4 separate regions of the Homo sapiens genome follow, and regions 1, 2 and 4 are each linked to region 3. Evidence: promoter capture Hi-C in 16 types of primary human blood cells and fetal thymus (Javierre and others, 2016). All regions are on one chromosome and are shown on one strand. Each heading gives the region's core, a stretch centred on a gene start or on the middle of the fragment in contact. The rest is flanking DNA. Distances are from core to core; before and after follow the strand shown. Region 1 has its middle 170 kb from the start of LINC00588. Region 2 has its middle 150 kb from the start of LINC00588. Region 3 holds the start of UBXN2B (UBX domain protein 2B). Region 4 has its middle 140 kb from the start of LINC00588.

Region 1 (2,822 bases), core at 269-2,768, 960 kb after region 3:
CCAAAATGCTGCATAAGTCAAGGAGGTAGTAAACCGTCAGAAGTATCTGGAAGGCATTCTAGAAATACCTTTCTTGGACATGGATTTCCCCAGATCAAGGCCCCATTTAAAAAACTCTAGTTAGATGACAAAATTGATGAACTCTTACAGACCTAAAGTTGTAAGAAAAATCTTATTTATTAAACCTCTATCTGAGTTTGTTAGTATGTTTGTCCAATTATGGAAGAATCAGGGGGTAACCCAGCTGGGCACATCTGGAGGCAACTGTTAAGATCCCTGATTATGACGTGAGCTGCCACTAATGTGACTCTTATGCCTGTCATGGAACAGAGCACACAGCAGGGACTCTCTCTCTTTGGCGGAGTTGATATTGCTGTATATTCCGGGTCCTCCAAATGAGAACAAAGCTGTTCCTTGAAAAAAGAAAGCACAATTCAGCCCCCTGGGGGCCTACTGGATGCCAGTACAAGCTCCCATTTCTCTGCTTCTCCAAGAGCATGATCCAATGCCTGCTGTGCTGTTGAGATAACAGGGTACACTTTCATGTGCTGGAAGTGGTGACACAGGCAGGCTTGGGGTAATCTTGGAAGTGGTCATGTATGTATTCCTAGTCACAAGACACAAGCAACAGGCCTTAAGAAATGAATTAGCTCTTAGAGCCCTTGTTCATTGTAGGTGGGAATGTAAAATGGTGCAGCTGCTATTGTAAACAGTATGAAGGTTTCTAAAATATTAAAAATTAAAAATAAAATTACCACCTGGCCTAGCAATCACACTTCTGGATACAGATCCCAAATAGTTGAAAACAGAGCCTCAGAAAGGTATTTGCACACCCATGTTCCCTGACCCATTATTCATATTAACCAAAAGGTAGAAGCAACCCAATGTCTATTAACAGATGAATGGATTTTTAAGATGTAGTATATACATACACTGGAATATTATTCAGCCTTTGAAAAGAAGGAATGCTGTCAAATGTTACAGCATAGGTGAAGGGCATTACACTAAGTGAAAAAGTCAATCACAAAAAGACAAAAGCTATATGATTTCACTTATATGAGGTATTTAAAGTAGTCAAACTCACAAAAAGAAAGAACAGTGGTAGACAAAACCTAGAAAGAAAGGGAACTGGGAAGTTGTTGTTTCAGTTTTGCAAGATGACAAAATTCTAGAGATCAGTTGCACAACAATGTGAATACAGTTAACCCTGCTGAACTATACACATAAAAACGGCTTAGATGATAAATTCTATGTTATACAATTTTATTATAATTTTGGAAAATGTAAGGAAAAAATGCATTAACTCTTAATTATGCACTATGCAAACTCATTTATGCATGGGGATTTGACATTAATCATTTGGTTGATCCTAGAAAAGGATGTAAACTGAATCCTCTTAAATAAGATCACTTTTATTGTCAAAATTTTAATATTCTTTGTGTAAAACTGATTTAAAAGATTTTATCTCTTCTTCTGGTTATTTTTCCCTTTATAAGGAAACATGTATTTTTACATTTATATCAATTACTATATCTATTTGTTAACATTTTCTTAAAAGTGTTTTCTCCAGATATTGGCTGTAAAAAAAGTTGTTAAAAAGAAGAAGAGGAAGAAGAAGAAAGAAGAAGAAGGAGGAAGAGGAGGTGGAGGAGGAGGAGAAAGAGGAAGAAGAAGAAGAAGAGGAGGTGGAGGAGGAGGAGGAGAAAGAGGAAGAAGAAGAAGGAGGAGGAGGAGCAGGAGGAGGAGGAGGAGGGGGAGGAGAAGGAGGAGGGGGAGGAGGAGGGGGAGGAGGGGGAGGAGGAGAAAGAGGAGGAGAAAGAGGAGGAGGAGGAGGCAGTGGCAGGAAGGCAAAAAGAGAAGGAAAGAAGAAAAGAAAAGGAAGGAAAGAAGAAAGAAAGAGAGAGAAAGAAAAGAAAGGAAAGAAGGAAGGAAAGAAAGAAAGAAGAAAGAAAGGAAGAGAAAAAGAAAGAAAGAAGAACGAATGAAAGAAAGAAAGAGAAAAGAAAGAAAGAGAAAGAAAGAAGAGAAATAAATCTCGGGCTGAGAAAATCTGCAAATAAGCGCATAATTAGCTCTGAGTATCTTGAGGATGAAGTCAAAGAGGGAAGCACACTGGTTATGATAGAGATAGGTGGCAGCCAAGGCCTACCCCTCACAAAACCCTGCCTTCAAGCATAAAACACTTGACAGCTGAAAAACCGAACTGCCAGTCTGGAAGACTCTGCAACTGACCTGTGCACTGGCAGGACAGATTGGAGCCATGGGAAGTTCTCAGGTTTGCAAGGAGAAGGAGCCTGGCCCTTCTGTTCCTGGGTGGGAACCTGGAATTCAAACTGTGAGATGAGGGCCTGTTAACAGGAACCCCTCTCTCACTTTGCTGTATTGTTTTTCCTCTTTCCTTTTCGCCCAGTACATTTCGTCCCCCTCGCCCTTCAAAGTGTCTGTGAGCCTAATCTTTCCTGGTTGTGTGGCAAGAACCTGGATTTTCCTACAACAGTTACATATGTTTCATTGTCTTAGAAAATGAAACACTCTAGTCTGTCAAAAAGCAAACGTTTTCTGGCTCTGGTGTCTGCGAGCAAGTTCTCAAGTGGGTGGATATAGTGACTGGCATCCTGGAACAATGTCCCTCCAGTAGTTTCACAAAGAAGGCACAGAAGTTCTACTCACGACTGTTTCTTATGAAGCTGAGGCACGCTGCGAGGCTTTGCTTTTGTGATGAAGAAACTCGAGACTAGACCTGACACATGAATAGAACTCAGGGAACTTTGAGGAACAGGGCCCTTGGCAAATGTCAGTTGTCTCAGCTAGACTTTCGAAAT
Region 2 (2,774 bases), core at 216-2,715, 980 kb after region 3:
TTAAAACATCATATAATAAAGTTGAAGTCATCTATTTTGAAGTTGGAATACATCATTCCCAGGAATGTTTTTAAGCTTTCATTGCACATGCATGGATGTATTCACAATGCATACAATTGTTTTGCAATTTTTTTTAGGTTAAAGAAAATGCGTCAGCCGGGCATGGTGGCTCATGCCTGTAATCTCAGCACATTTGGAGGCCAAGGTGGGCAGATCACTTAAGGCCCCATGTTCGAGATCAGCCTGGCCAACATGGTAAAACCCTGTCTCTACAAAAAACACAAAAATTAGCTGGATGTGGTGGTGGGCACCTGTAATCCCAGCTACTTACATGGCTGAGGTGGGAGACTTGCTTGAACCTGGGAGGCAGAGGTTGCAGTGAGCTGTGATTGCCACTGCACCCCAGACTAGGCAGGAAAAAAAAAGAAAAGAAAATGTATCATATTCTATGCAACACTCTGGGTGACTTGTTTTGTTCACGCAACAGTTTTTGAGATTTATCCAAGTTGTTCCATTTTGGTTTCTGTATGAAATTCCATTGTATGAATATACAGCACTGCATTTATCATGCTCCCATGATGGACATTTGTGTCTGCACTTTCTCTATCACCAACAATCTGACTATGTTTTTAAACAATTTGCCTTGTGTCCATATTCCTGCATTTCTCTAGGGCAGCAGTTTACAAACATTTTTGTCTCAGGACCCGTTTACACTCCTGAAGCTTATTTAGGACCATAACAAGATTTGTATATGTGTCTTACAGCTATCAACATTTACCATATTAGATATCAAAACTGAGAAAATTAAAAAATATATATAAATTCATTCATTTTTAAAAGCACTAATAAACCCACTATATGTTAATTATTACATTAAAGCTGTGTATAGCTGTAAATGTATAGACTATTACCAAATTGTTCTCCAAAGTGATTGACAAAATGCATACCAATAGTATACAAGCATTTCTGTTTCTTTATATCTTCTACAACACTTGGTATAGTTAGGCTTATTAAATTTGATCAGTCAGATGGTTAGGAGAGAGTGTCTCATTATTGTTCTAATTCCTACTTCCCTGCAACAACAAGGTTCTTTATTAACTCTTCCCAAGTTACCAAGTTTAAGCACACTCAGGACTCTGATGTAGATTACTTTACAAAATTTTGTTTTAAAGTGATTGTTCAGAACTCAGAATACATTATTATTATTATTACCATTAAACATAGAGACAGGTTATAAATAGTGGGCACTGTTCCAGACTAGCCCACAAAGACTGAGTTACCCTAAGACGTAGAGGGTTAAGAAATCTAAGGGACATGTGGGGGGACACAACACATGCTGGGGCTGGCCAGGAGGGTAGGGGGAGAAAGAGCATAAGGATAAAGAGTTAATACATGTGGGGCTTAAAACCTAGGTGATGGGTTGACAGGTGCAGCAAATCACCATGGCACACATTTACCCATGTAACAAATCTGCACATCCTGCACATGTATCCTAGAACTTAAAATAAAAGTTGTTGGAAAAAAAAGACTAATAGCACAGCACAGTCAGGGGAGGGCTGGTCTTGAACTTAAGACGCAGTCTCAGATCCCGCTCTGTCAATACTCATCTGTGTTACCTCCCTGAATCTATTTTTCTCAACTATGAAATGAGTATAATAACACACATTCTCCTACTTCACAGAGTATTGCAAGGATCAAATGAGATGTAAAAATCCATTAAAACTCTGTGATGGTATATCCACACAATTGAGCACTATGCAGCTATAAAAAAAGAATAAGGAAGATATCTACAAACTGATACAAAGTCATTTCTAGGACATGTTGTTTAGGATAATAATAAAAGGACAAAAGATATATATATAAATATATATATATCTTTTGTGTATGAAAGACATACAGATATAGATGTTAGATATAGATATAGATACCTATATCTCTGTATGGCTCCATTAGCCTATTTTTGTAAAAAGAAACACAGGACAGAGAAAATTGAAACTGATGAGATTGGTTGCCTGTTGAGGTAGTCAGGAATTTATTGGAAGGGATACAGAAGAGAAAGTCAAATGTTTGAGTATATATCTGTATAGTATGGACTTTTTGAACCCATTAATGTTTACATACTCCAAAATTAAATAAAATTAAACTGAGTCAATAAAATCGAAGGGGGCAAGTCCTAAAAGGTCACACAAATGAAACAATTAAGCTTAATTGTATTTCAAATGGAGAGCATGACCACAGTGAAGAGGAGGGAAACTAACACAAATAATTTTGTTTTTAAAAAATCAATTTACTCTGATTTGTTTTTTGAACAGAATATTTTGACTATAAGAAAAAACTGATTGTGGACAAATCTTGAACTCTAGTAGGGTTTGTTTTAGCAGTGTTGTGGGTTAGCAATTCTGAACAACTTCCTATGTATCATAGGAGTTAGCAATGAGTACATGTATTGATGATGTTGAGAAGAGACATACAAATACATAATAGCAAAAGGCTAAGAAGAACCCTGTGGCATTGAATTGGAATTGGTGGTATTAGCCTGAACGCATGGTTTTTAAATACTATTATAGACATAGTCACACTTGTGAGTACGTGTGTGTATTCTCCAGGTTTTCTGCTGAAAGGACCTCAAAACAATGACACCCAAAAGCAATACACACATTTAGTATCCAAATGTCTATATACTGTCTCCCACTAAAAAGAAGCAGGACTTCTCCAAAAACAAAAAGGCTAGGGTAGGGAAAATGCTATACAAGCCCTGAACACTTTGTTATGTC
Region 3 (2,828 bases), core at 16-2,515:
AGGTACACAATAGCTTCCTATCCCTTGATACTGTTTACTACTACTGAACCAACTATGGGAGCTGGAACTATTCTACATTAAGTTCACCTCCTAATGTTACACTGATCTCTCCAGCCTCCAAATTCTTCGCTTTATGCACTGCTTATTTTGGCACCCAATCATACTCCATCTTAAAATGTTATGCTAAGTATTCATACCCTATTTCTCCGAAGAAATCTGTAGGCTTCCAAAAGGTAGAACTGTCTTTTACACTTACATACCTACCCATCAATAGAGTTCAGCACCGACTAAGGATTTGATGTCCTTATTTCCACATTCGCAAAGCTCAGCAGTATGTTACAATGGATGGTGGTTTGTTCACATTAGAATGAAGTGTGGTTGTAAAGTAATACAGTAAAACTGTTCTACCAAGATTCTCCTTAGTATCTCCTTACTGATATTTACTTGTCAAATTTTTATCAATAATCTTATAATGAGACACAAAAACGCCTAAAATGAGAAAAGTGGCGTTAGTATCTGATAAAACGGGATTTGGTGCGCTACTATTTAGCTAACTAATACTAGTGTCCTACACAACATTACGAAATTTTATTTCCCAGTTTCTTCAGTGCAATGTTTTAAAGACCACAGCTTAGACAACTAGGCTGTATGGGCATAGAGTGCATCGCTTTCCTTCACCCCTTTAAAAGAAAAACCTACCTGATAAAATGGAACCATTTTTATATTTAAGTAAGCAAGTCAGAAATAGCATCCAAGACAAAAAAGAACAAATCACGTATCATTACTGTTCAGGTGACTGTCTACTTCCCTGCGGCCACAGTAACCTTTCTTCTGGAGTAAGTCTCAAGAAGGAAGCATCAACCCGTGAACCGACCAACTGACCCCGCAAAATGTCATTCTAAACGAATAGCTATTTTTACATCATACGTGGGGTGGAAGGGAGACAAAGCACCAGCGCTGGAGGCTTGGGCACTTGTGTTCACGACCACCACAGTGTCAAGACCCGACATCGGGAGACCGGGCGCCGGATTCTATCCCCAGACGGGGTCGGGGAAAGGCTCCGCCGAGGCCAGAGGTGGCCTCCAACTCGCACCAGCCCGCGCCGTCACCAGCCCGCGTCCACCGCCGCGCTCCCTCCCCCGGCTCCTCGCCTCACCTGCAAATCCCGCGCGCTCGGAGGCCGCGGCCCGGAAGACCTCCTCTCCTGCTCGCCGGGCTCAGGGCCTCCGCCCTCCGCCATCTTCCGCTGGCTAGCGGCGCCCGCTGCGGACGCACCTGCCGCAACTTCCGGGGCCGGTTGCCTGGCAACCGCAGGAGGGGCGAAGACGCGCAAGGTGCGTGCGCGTCCCCGCTACCCGAACCCGCGCCCCCGCTTCCGGTGCTGGCCCACCTTTTTGGTTTCTCCTTTTTTCTTAAAGGGAGTTTCTCCGCAGGGAAACCTCTGTTAAGTTTTGTGTTGCTCCTGCTACTCGCCTAAAGGCACTGTAGGCCGCCCTAGAGGGCAGCATAGACTTGCAGATTCATTTAGCTCAACAATGAAAACATCCTCTGGATTTTTCATCTGATGAAAAATTGCAACCTCTCCATCTAGTCTTGGTCAGATTCTCTGATCTTTCCTATCAAGGATTGGATGGTACATCGTCACCACAGCGTGAATTAGCACTGAGAGTGAAAAACACCGTAAAAAGTGCTTGGAATAATTTGCTAAAAGCAGAACTCTGCCGGGCCTGTGGCTCACGCCTGTAGTCCCAGCACTTTGGGAGGCCGAGGCGGACGAGGTGATCGAGACCATCCTGGCCAACATGGTGAAACCCCTTCTCTACTAAAAAAAAAAATATATATATATATATATATATATATATATATACACACACATATATATATACACATATATACACACACATATATATATACACATATATATACATATATATACACATATATATATATATATATACACAAAAATTAGCTGGGCGTGGCGGAGCGTGCCTGTAGTCCGAGCTACTGGGGAGACTGAGGCAGGAGAATCGCTTGAATCAGGGAGTCGGAGGTTGCAGTGAGCCGAGATCGCGCCACTGCACTCCAGCCTGGCGACACAGGGAGGATCCGTCTCAAAAAAGAAAAAAAGCAGATCTCGAGACTATCAAGCCCTCGTCATTCAACTGAAATTGATTTAGACTCTGGTCTTCTTATCCTAGGCACTTTTTGTTTTTGAGACGGAGCCTCGCTCTGTCGCCCAAGCTGGAGTGCAGTGGCGCGACCTCGGCTCACTGCAGCCTCCACCTCCCGGGTTCAAGCAATTCTCCTGCCTCAGCCTCCCGAGTAGCTTGGACTACAGGTGCGTGCCGCCATGCCCGGCTAACTTTTGTATTTTTAGTAAAGACGGGGTTTCACCATGTTGGCCAGGATGGTCTTGATCTCCTGACCTCATGATCTGCCCACCTCGGCCTCCCAAAGTGCTGGGATTACAGGCGTGAGCCACTGCGCCTGGCCTCCTAGGCACTTTTATGCCCAAGGGATGCAAAGGTAAAAAGAAATAGTCCCAGTCATTATGAAACTCAGTCTAGTAGGGAAAAGAGACATGTAAACGGGTAAGATGCAGCTTGCAGTAGAGCTTTGCTTGGGAGGGTTACAAAGGAAATGTGAGCCATGTGAGGGGAAATACTCCGTTGGTATCTGCTGTGTGCACCATGCTAGGTGCTGGAGTCGACAGCTTGCCGCCCGAGCTTTGGCATACTGATCGTTTTGATGTATAAAGGCATTTGAGGCTGGGCGTCGTGGCTGACGCCTGTAATCCCAACTCTTTGGGAGGCCGAGGCAGACGGATC
Region 4 (2,700 bases), core at 174-2,673, 1.0 Mb after region 3:
ACTCAGTCTATTATAAAATATACTCAAAATCTACTCTAGGTACAACAAGCCATCTAAAAATATGACAATACGATGCTGCCCTTGCTTGGGCAAATAAAACATAACCCCAAAATCCTGCCTGGAGACTGGGTTCTATTAAAAACTTAAAAAGAAAAAGCTCCCCAACAGATCAACTTCTTCCTAAATAGATTAAAAAAAAAAAAAAAACTTTAACAAGTACTACTAGCACACCAATGGCTGTAAAGCTACAAAAAATAGCTAGTCGGGTCCACAGGACCAAAATTAAACTTTACAATAAACCTTTACAAACACCAGAAAAAGCTGCTAATTACACTTGCATGCCCATAGGGGATCGAAAACTTCTATTCAAAAAAACAACCCCAAATGGAGCCAAGTTGAAAAATAAATAACATCTTCATTTTCTTGGCACTTGCCTGCCATGCTCTAATGGCTTTTAGAGACACTGACCTGTCTACTAGAAAAATAAATAACCATACCATCAGTCTATTAAACTTAACTCAACTTTGTTGGCTTTGCATGACCAAAAAGTTAAAAATATGCCAGACCTGTGCCCTTAAAAGACTGACCTAGCATCCCAACACATCTCCAGAGAAAAACTCACTGCCTCAGAGAATGGGGATATCAGGCCTAATAGTTAATACAAAAAAAAAAAACTGTGGGGTCAAGTCATAGGTTCTTTAAGTTCTTCCTCTTAACTATCAACAATAGTTCAAATGTCCCAAAAGAAAAAAAAAAGATTTCTTATTTTATCTTTTATCCAGAACTATTCCCCTTTTGCCTTTTCAACAATCATGTTAGCTCCACCACTTTCGTAAGAAAATTTCAAGAGTCAGTGTAGCTGAACTGTTGTCACTGGGTCATCTATCTTAGTCAATACCTCTACAAAAATTAAACTAATAAATAAACAACTCACTCGTCCAACCAATTTCCTGCTCTATCATGTCCCCAAACAGGTATGGCCTCTATTCCCTGTCAACAAAACTAGAATCTATAGCTTATCTGGGGCAACGCTCACATGTGAAGCCTTTATCCATCCAATCTCAATATATCTTCTGAGAATTGTCAACATATCCGATCAAAAAATCACTACACCTTGTAGTGGGACCCTTAAAACAAAACTTTATTCCAAACATGTATTAATGCCACCATCCAACTTAACCATTCATTAATAGACCTAATAACCACTACCAGGTTTTGTGTTAAATACACAAAACCTTTCATTTATAGACCACAAATATTTTTTTAAAAAAACCCTCCAGTACTTTCACCACTTTAATACAAAATATTTTACAACGCAAATTTCACCATCACAAAAAATGTGGAGAAGTTATAAATCTTCAGCATATTGACAACTCCCTCCACAGTGGAAGGGATGATGCGCCATTGCTTACATTTCCCCCTGATTTTCGCATAGACGGACACATCTCTCCTTTCCCCATGTACCAACATCACAAGATCCACCTCCGAGGAAAACCCTTTATTTCTTTAGTGTTAGTTCTATCCTCTCTATTAAAATTAGCAGGGTCAGCTACCAGAGGAGCAGACTTAAAAATCTAGCATTAACTGTCTTTAAAAATCACATTGACCTTCTGGCATACAGCAGAGGGCCTCACTAGACTTCAACAACAGCTAGACTCCCTGACCGCTATAATCTTACAAACCAAAGAGCCTTAAATCTTCTCACAGCCAGATAAAAAGAACAAAACAAAACAAGACAAAAACATATTTATATCTATTTATATCTTTTTAAAAATACTGCTTTCACATCAATCAGTTCTGTTTAGTCAAAAAAAATATTAAATATCATTACCCAGGCAGACAAAATTAAATCTTTAAAACCTTACATAAAAACTTAAAAACCATGACTACTGTCTGCCTTTCTCCCTGTAATGATGCCAGTCATCACCATACTTTTAACTTTTACTTTTGGTTCAACTTTGTTTAAAATACTAGCTAGTTCCTTACTGTCTCACTTACAACAATTCCAGGTCCACATGATGGTTTTACAAGACTTTCAACCTTTGGCTGCTAATGAGCTATCTCACATCTTGCTACCAGTCCCATAAATGCCATGGCTTACATCCCGTTAAACCAGACAAAAACAGACTCTAAGGACAAGGCTAGGCAGGAACAAGGCTCCACTCAACAAAAAACAATGCCAAAAAAATGACCTAGCCCCTCAACTTCCCATGTAATTATGGGCCCTAAAATCTCTTAGGGAGAAATTGGAGTAGAATAGGTAGTCAGGGAAGGGACAATGTCCTTGAGACACAACAAGCATGGTGACTGTACAGTCAACACAATAAGCCTAAGCATTCACATTGTAATTGAGTTCATCCAAACAAAGCTATCCAGTAGAAAATTTCCCCTGTAGAGATCATGCACACATTGATTTTACCTGTCCTTAAACTGGCCCTTTGCTCATTATAATAGTAAGAAACACATTCCTGGGTAGAGATTTCGATACTAATGAGACATGTGATGTATAAACAATCACGTACATCTACTGAGCATGTGCTCCCCAAAGACCACCCAAAACATGCTTACGAGCTTCACTTCTTCCCATCGCCTTATAAATAATCATATAAAACTCCCATGAAAAGAATTTCTTCAACAATATTCAACGCTGTCTCATCCTTGCGAGCAGCCTGCCCTAAACGCTGTCTCTCAGAGTGTACT

Evidence for each region. Contacts are between HindIII fragments. The CHiCAGO score rates a contact against its expected background, and 5 or more counts as called.
Region 1: a contact is called between a fragment that was not itself captured here and the fragment with the promoter of UBXN2B in region 3, in 1 of 17 cell types (neutrophils). The highest score is 7.9, in neutrophils.
Region 2: a fragment that was not itself captured here is called in contact with the fragment with the promoter of UBXN2B in region 3 in 5 of 17 cell types (neutrophils, monocytes, naive CD8 T cells and 2 more); the score reaches 9.5 in neutrophils.
Region 4: a contact is called between a fragment that was not itself captured here and the fragment with the promoter of UBXN2B in region 3, in 1 of 17 cell types (neutrophils). The highest score is 5.8, in neutrophils.

The regions. Positions count from the first base shown.
Region 1 is chr8:57,447,700-57,450,521 of GRCh38, reverse strand. No RefSeq gene overlaps it. Among named protein-coding and RNA genes, the nearest start is that of LINC00588, 170 kb to the right of the region's middle. The HindIII fragment of the contact is 8,507 bases long and covers 1-2,822 here.
Region 2 is chr8:57,430,858-57,433,631 of GRCh38, reverse strand. No RefSeq gene overlaps it. Among named protein-coding and RNA genes, the nearest start is that of LINC00588, 150 kb to the right of the region's middle. The HindIII fragment of the contact is 1,481 bases long and covers 725-2,205 here.
Region 3 is chr8:58,409,798-58,412,625 of GRCh38, reverse strand. UBXN2B (UBX domain protein 2B) reads right to left here and starts at 1,265. Exons shown (of 8, transcript NM_001077619.2): 1 at 1,157-1,265. The coding sequence starts at 1,240. RefSeq lists enhancers at 820-869, 1,150-1,199, 1,210-1,269. The HindIII fragment of the contact is 12,087 bases long and covers 1-2,828 here.
Region 4 is chr8:57,414,063-57,416,762 of GRCh38, reverse strand. No RefSeq gene overlaps it. Among named protein-coding and RNA genes, the nearest start is that of LINC00588, 140 kb to the right of the region's middle. The HindIII fragment of the contact is 3,332 bases long and covers 1-2,700 here.